2 separate regions of the Homo sapiens genome follow, and region 2 is linked to region 1. The links are contacts of gene promoters, found by promoter capture Hi-C in blood cells and fetal thymus (Javierre and others, 2016). All regions are on one chromosome and are shown on one strand. The core of a region is centred on a gene start or on the middle of the fragment in contact, and the rest is flanking DNA. Distances in the headings are between cores, read along the strand shown.

Evidence for each region. Contacts are between HindIII fragments. The CHiCAGO score rates a contact against its expected background, and 5 or more counts as called.
Region 2: a fragment that was not itself captured here is called in contact with the fragment with the promoter of SPAST in region 1 in 1 of 17 cell types (monocytes); the score reaches 5.1 in monocytes.

The regions. Positions count from the first base shown.
Region 1 is chr2:32,061,482-32,065,169 of GRCh38, forward strand. SPAST (spastin) reads left to right here and starts at 2,075. Exons shown (of 17, transcript NM_014946.4): 1 at 2,075-2,765. The coding sequence starts at 2,351. RefSeq lists enhancers at 1,869-1,938, 1,987-2,787 and silencers at 2,159-2,298, 2,359-2,778, 2,809-2,938. The HindIII fragment of the contact is 15,667 bases long and covers 1-3,688 here.
Region 2 is chr2:32,384,395-32,388,082 of GRCh38, forward strand. All of the region lies in intron 3 of BIRC6 (baculoviral IAP repeat containing 6), which reads left to right. Among named protein-coding and RNA genes, the nearest start is that of BIRC6, 29 kb to the left of the region's middle. The HindIII fragment of the contact is 4,321 bases long and covers 1-3,688 here.

The sequences.
Region 1 (3,688 bases), core at 825-3,324:
ACAGGAATGCACCACCACCACAGGAATGCACCTGTCTAACTTTTGTATTTTTAGTATAGAGGGAGTTTTGCCATGTTAGCCAGGCTGCTCTTGAACTCCTGACCTCCGGTGATCTGCTCGCCTCGGCTCCCAAAGTTCTGGGATTACAGGCGTGAGCCACCACACCCGGCCGAAAGAGGGCATTTCAGAATGAGGGTCTAGCATAAGCACAGAGAAGGGGGAGCAATAAGAGGGAAACAGGGAGTAGGTCATTTTTGCAATAGCCTGTGACATTTGTAGGGCAGTACTGGCGGGGAATAATTAAGTAAAATTGGCTGGTGCTGTGGCTCATGCCTGTAATCCCAGCACTTTGGGAGGCCGAGGCGGGCAGGTTGCTTGAGCCCAGGAATTCAAGACCAACCTGGGAAACATAGCAAGACCCTGTCTCAACAAAAAAGTAAAAAAATTAGCTGGGGGCGCGATGGGGTGGCTCATGCCTGTAATCCCAACACTTTGGAAGGCTGAGGCAGGCGGATTGCTTGAGCCCAGGAGTTGGAGACCAGCCTGGGCAACATGGTGAAACCCTGGCTCTATAAAGAATACAAAAATTAGTCGGGCCCAGTGGCGTGTGCCTGTGATCCCAGCTACTCGGGAGGCTGAGGTGGAAGGATCACCTGAGCCAGGGAGGTGGAGGTTGCAGTGAGTCATGTTGTTTGCGCCACTGCACTCCAGCCTGGGCAATGGAGTGAAACCCTGTCCAAAAAATAAAAAAATAAAGCTGTGGCAGAATGTGGAGATTCTTGGAAGCTGGAAGCTCTCATGGGGCATTTGGAAACCTCACATTGTAAATAACGGAGTCTTTTTATCAGTTTGGCTTCCTTAGTTTTAGGAAACAAGAAATAATTATGGCTAACTCAAGTAAAAAGAGAAAGAGAAGAGAAAAAAGACGTGGAGATAGAGAGAGAGGGAGAGAGAGGAAAAGACGAAAGGAAGGAAGGGGGAAAGGAGAGAGGAAGAGAGAAACAGAGAAACAGACTGATTAGTGTATTGGATAGATTACATAACCAAGTGACCAGTCAGGAACCCAGCAGCTCTGGGGGAGCTCAATGTGATGCATTGATAAACCCGCTCTTAAGAGCACTCGTTTCCAGTTACTTTCTATTCGGTGGGTCTCCAGCCAAGATTCCAGGTCCCAGGAGAATCTGACTGACCTAGTGTTTGCTTCCGCCTTTGCGGTCTGGGTTCTGTGCTTGCAGCTCATTAGAATACAGGGAGCAGAGACAAGCAGGTAGTTTCCCAAAGGAAGGGATGCTGAGTAGATTAAAAAAAAAGTGTAGATTCTTCAGTAAACTATGGGATGGTAACTATGCAAAACCTAAGATTTCCCTTATTCAAATAAATTATCTTTCATATTAGACATCTAAATATGCACTAATTTAGTTAAACCCCTGGGTTAGTTGATCTCATCACACTGAGCTAACATTTTTGTTGCTGTTGTTTGCAGTGACCTGAAGTTTCTTATCTTCACAATTGCTTTCCTCTCAAATAATTCCCAGATTTTAAATTTTTATTTTATTTTTTCTGGAGACGGAGTCTCGCTCTGTCGCCCAGGCTGGAGTGCAGTGGCGCGATCTCAGCTCACTTGCAGCCTCTGCCTCCCGAGTTCAAGCGATTCTCCGGCCTTAGCCTTCCAACCAGCTGGGACTACAGGCGCGCGCCCCCACGCCCGGCTAATTTAATTCCCAGATTGATATCCATTGCTTCTGAGATGGGCCAATTATCCTTCGGAGAAGACTTAGGTCGCCTGGCAGAAAAAGATGAAAGAAATCTAAGAAAACGACGACACTGAGAGAGGAGCCTAGCGAACCAGCAGAGCGACCCCAAGCCGCAATTCCCCCTTCCGTGGATCGATTACGAAGGCTTCCTGGCAGGAGCTCTCCAGGGCTGCCGACGTGAGCCGAACTGCACATTGGGAACTGTAGTTGAGTGGGAAAGCCGAGAGGCGGGGGCCGCACACGCGTACAGGGGCCCCGGTCAACAAAGACGCGCCGTGCGCGCGCGCGCCGGAGAAAAACACGGGAAGACGTGCGCGTGCGCGGCCGCCGCTGGGAGCCACCAGGCGGCGGAGAGGACAGCGACAGGAAGGGAGGGGCCCGAGCCACCGACTGCAGGAGGAGAAGGGGTTGTGCTCCTGGCCGAGGAAGGAGAAAGGGGCGGGGCCGGCGGGCAGCGTGCGGCAGTGCGGAGCTCCTGAGACCGGCGGGCACACGGGGGTCTGTGGCCCCCGCCGTAGCAGTGGCTGCCGCCGTCGCTTGGTTCCCGTCGGTCTGCGGGAGGCGGGTTATGGCGGCGGCGGCAGTGAGAGCTGTGAATGAATTCTCCGGGTGGACGAGGGAAGAAGAAAGGCTCCGGCGGCGCCAGCAACCCGGTGCCTCCCAGGCCTCCGCCCCCTTGCCTGGCCCCCGCCCCTCCCGCCGCCGGGCCGGCCCCTCCGCCCGAGTCGCCGCATAAGCGGAACCTGTACTATTTCTCCTACCCGCTGTTTGTAGGCTTCGCGCTGCTGCGTTTGGTCGCCTTCCACCTGGGGCTCCTCTTCGTGTGGCTCTGCCAGCGCTTCTCCCGCGCCCTCATGGCAGCCAAGAGGAGCTCCGGGGCCGCGCCAGCACCTGCCTCGGCCTCGGCCCCGGCGCCGGTGCCGGGCGGCGAGGCCGAGCGCGTCCGAGTCTTCCACAAACAGGCCTTCGAGTACATCTCCATTGCCCTGCGCATCGATGAGGATGAGAAAGGTAACTAGGGGGCTGGGGGAGGGGGCGGCGGCGCCGGGAAGAAGGCGGTGGGGTCGCCGGGGGAGGGCAACACCTGCGTCCCTTTTCTGCGGGAGGGGACGGTGCACCCCCGGAATTGATATGCCCCGGGAGACTGCTTTCCCGTAGGTCGGAGCCTCATCTTCTAGTATTCTTAAAACCTCTCCCCTTTCAGGGCACTGTAGCTGTCGACTTTGTTTCAGACACCAGCCTTCCCCCACACTTCTGCATGACCCAGGTCACTATGAGACACCCAGACGTGTTGATGACAGTGACATTTGTCCTAGAGTGACCACACTGATCCTTTCTAGCACTGTGAAGAGTGTGCAGCTTCCTCTGAACCAAGGTTTCCAAAAGGTTTTGATATTGAAGAAGCAGTGCCGCCTTACTGGCTTTTAATGAAAGCAGAGTATTGTAGTGTCAGAAAAAAAGAACAAATGGTGACAATTTTGAAAGAAATAGCTGCATATGACTGCAGTTGAATTTGCATCATTTTAATCAAGATAATCATTTTATCAGTACAACGATTCCTGAATACTTTTTCAATGAAGTTATATTTAGCATAAAACTTTTCCCCCTGTTGCTTTGATTTTAATTAAAACAGTATTCCAAAGTAGCCTTTAATTTCCAAGTTGAAATGTTTGATGAATGGATTGCGTAAACTTAAACATACCACTTTACAGTAAAACCTAAAACAACTATGTATGTTTCTGAATGAAAGCAAGGATACTACATCTTTCGGGTTTCTTTTAAGCTAACTTTTTTTTTTTTTTGAGACGGAATCTCGCCCTGTCGCCCAAGCTGGAGTGCAATGGTGCAGTCTCGGCTCACTGCAACCTCCGACTCCCTGGTTCCAGCGATTCTCCTGCCTCAGCCTCCCGAGTAGCTGGGATTACAGGCACGCA
Region 2 (3,688 bases), core at 654-3,153, 320 kb after region 1:
CTTTGAAATACTTTTCTTGATCAGAAGCAAAGTTTTCTACAATACCATGACATTCTGTCAGTCCACAGGCAATGGACTATATAATATTACGGCAGAAAACTATGGACAGAACAGGTAAATGCATACCTAGAATATATATTTGTTATGTTGAAGACAAATTGCTGCCTAGTCCATGACTAGGAATCCCGTATAATCAACCTACTGTCAGATAGCTGGCTGTTCCCCCTGGGAAATGACGTGATATTTGCCACCCAACTTTGGTAACTGTTTGGCAGATTAGGCAATCAGCAACAGCTGTAGCCTGGTTAGTATTGGTACAGGGAAGTTTACATTTTTGGGCCTGTGCATAGCCTCCATATCTGTTGCCATGGTATTTTGCACACAAGTCCATTGAGCAAGCACTGGAGTGCCCGTGGAGAGAGGCTTACTGTCATGTATATAATGTGTATAACTTCTCCCATTTCTTCTGAAATGGATGCCTTTTGGTCTGCATTGACATATTTCATACGTATTTTTACCCTCTGAGAGTTCTATTCATAGACCTTTGTTTTTGACCTCCTTGCTGCTAGTCTTCTAGTTCTGTTTCTTCCAAGTGCCTGACCATCTAGCTAACAAATTAGCAACTCTGTTAACTAGTGAGGATCTTTACTTCTAGCCAACTCTAAATCCATACAAGAACAGTCATACATACTGACTGAAGTTCTATCTATTGAGAAGATTTACCTTCACCACTCTCCTTGTGATTGGGGCTATGATTCTGTAGCCATCCACTTCGGGGTAGTACCAGCATATCATGCAGAACCATCTGTAAATCAGGGCCAAGAGTATTTTCCCCTCATATTATTTCATCATAAGGAGTTCCCCATGAAGCTATTGATGTAGAACAAGGAGGAGACATTATAGTGGGAGTAGGTATTGAATTCTGAGCCACTTGTTTATTCAGTTTTTGCCTTTTGGACTTTGTGAAGACAGATCTTTTATAAAACACTTGATGAAGGATACTTGTTGCTGGTGCTCAATATTATGGTTGGTGTGTCAGATAACATTTGGACAGCTCTGAATTTGTAGACATTAGTTTCGTAGATAGATATTAATCTCTATCTGGGACTAGTAAGGAACTAGGAGCTGTTTTTCAAAAGGAGAATGGTTATTTGCATGAGAGGGTGTGGCTTTGCTCCAAGACCCTAGCATTCTGCTGTGTGATTGTCCCAATTAGGTTGCCACAGGCTCCTTACAGCATCATTATTTGCTGTGGACTTCTAGTGTCAGTGTCATTGAAAGTGCTCTTAAGGTAAAAGTGGCAGAGCATCTTGCAGTACAGTCTGGTCTTGTTGCAGAGTTTCTTGTTTTGCACCTTACTCAAAATTGGCAACCTTATATGTTTCTTGATACTTGGATTAGAGCACACATTCAAGTATGCTAAATATTGGCTCCCAAATCCAAGTAGGCCCACTAAGTACTGTGGCTTTTGTTTCTGTGGTTGGTGTTACAAGTTGGAGCAACTTGTCTTTCAGTCTGGAGGGAATATCCTGACATGACCAGACCTCTGGACCTCTGAAACTTAACCATGGTTGCAGAATCTTGAGTTTTTCTGGGGACTCTTATTCTCTGGTTTGCACCTTACTCAGGCATTTAATTTCCTTGCTGTTTCCTTTTCATCTGGACCAATCAGCGTGCTGTCATGATGTAGTGGACCATTATGTTGATCTGCAGGATGTTAGGATGATCAGGATTTCTAGAATGTGAGATGTGGTCTTAGGGAAAGATTGCAAAGATTTATTATTGTTCCTGCCAGGTAAAAGTGGACTTTTTGTATAGTCCTTAAAAGTAAAGATAGAAAAATATTGGATAGAACTGTAACTACCTACCAGATATCAGGGGATTTGTTGATTTGCTTTAATAAAGATACCTCATTTGGAAAAGCAGCTGCAATGGAAGTCGCCACCTGATAGTTTACCATCCACAGTCATTCTTCAAGATTCATTTACAACAGTCCAGTAAAGGGGACGAGGTCATTTGATTACCTCTGTATCTTTTAAGTCTCTCTCTCTTTTTTTTTTTTTTTCCAATACAGGGTCTTGCTCTGTCACTCAGGCTGGAGTACAGTGGTGTGATTTTGGCTTACTGTAGCCTTGCCGTCCTGGGCTCAAGTGATTTTCCCACCTCAAGGCTTCTGAGTAGCTGGGATGACAAGTGCATGCCATCACGCCTGGCTGTTATTTTTTAGTAGAGATGAGATCTTGCTATGTTGACCAGGATGGTCTCAGACGTTTAGGCTCAAACGAACCTCCATCCTCAGTCTCACAAAGTGCTAGGATTATAGGTATGAAGGCACTGTGCCCAACCTCAAATCTTTTACAGTGGCATTAATCTAAAAAATTTCTTCAGGAATGTAGCATTGCTTTAGTTTAATATCTTTGTAGAGAAGGAAAGTTCTAGGGGCTTATACTTCATGTTTTCTATATTACTGGCCCACAGAGAAGAGCAGAGAGCTAATCTGGGGATTGTTTTCAGTTGCCTGTTTTATATTATGCATTCAGGAACTGGGGAAGTAACTATTACACAATAAGGATTTACAGACCCATAGAACTCTCTGAGACAGCTTTGGGCTGAAACTTTATTAATCGCTTGACCATCCTACGTGCCCTCTTTCTTGGACCACAGTGATGTTTTAGGTCAGTTCAGTGCCATGTTTTTGTAATGCCTGAAAGATCTTTTCCCCCATGCACAGTCACTGTAGTGAATGCCCATAGGTCTTTCTGAGGGAAGGTTTGGAGTATGATTTACAGTACCAACTATAGTTGGGGTATCATAGGATCCTTTCTCAAGGGGAGTCATCCTCCCTTTCAATAAAAAGCTCTGATCTGTGAACAGATTAATTAGGTCTAGAAGTTTTCATTCTCCCTCTTTTTTTTTTTTTTTTTTTTAGCAATTCAAGTCATGTTTTTGTCTACAAGTTTTTCCAGTATTGTATAGATAAATAATAATTTACTAGGCTGCCTTGAGTATACTAGACAAGAGTAGAAACCATTCATGGGTGAACTGGGGACAGGATATAAAGATGCAATTACATTATAGACTTATTTCTCTGGGAGAATAGTACTTAGCATTTTTGTGGTCTAACTTCAGTAATTGTTGTAATATTAAATAATCATGGCTAACATTTATCGAATATTGCTGATGGCGAAGCTGGGCCCAGAATCCAGATGTGTGACTATAAGGCCTGTGTTTTTAGTTGCTATTGCTGGATTATGGTGACAACAGCAACAAAAACAATGCATCTGCTAAGCTGAACTAAATCCTCATATACCCCAGTAATGGTAATTGTCTAAATATATTCTTATGGATGGAGGTATTTGAGTGCCTACTCTGTGCTTAACATTGTACTGGATGAATAGGAAAAATGACAGATGATTTTAGTTGTCCTTAATTTTTGGTGATATATATAAGAACATGTGTTACTGTCTGGTTCTGAATTGTCTTTTCCAGAATAGTTAGTTGAGGTTTCATTTAAAAAATTAAAAAATTTTCATTGATAAATAATTGTATATATTTATGAGGTATAATGTGATGTTGTAATATATGTATACATTATAGAAAGATTAAATTAAGCTAATTAACATATCTATCAACTCACCTACTTACCATTTCTTTGTGATGAGAATGTTTAAAATCTATTCTTTTAGCA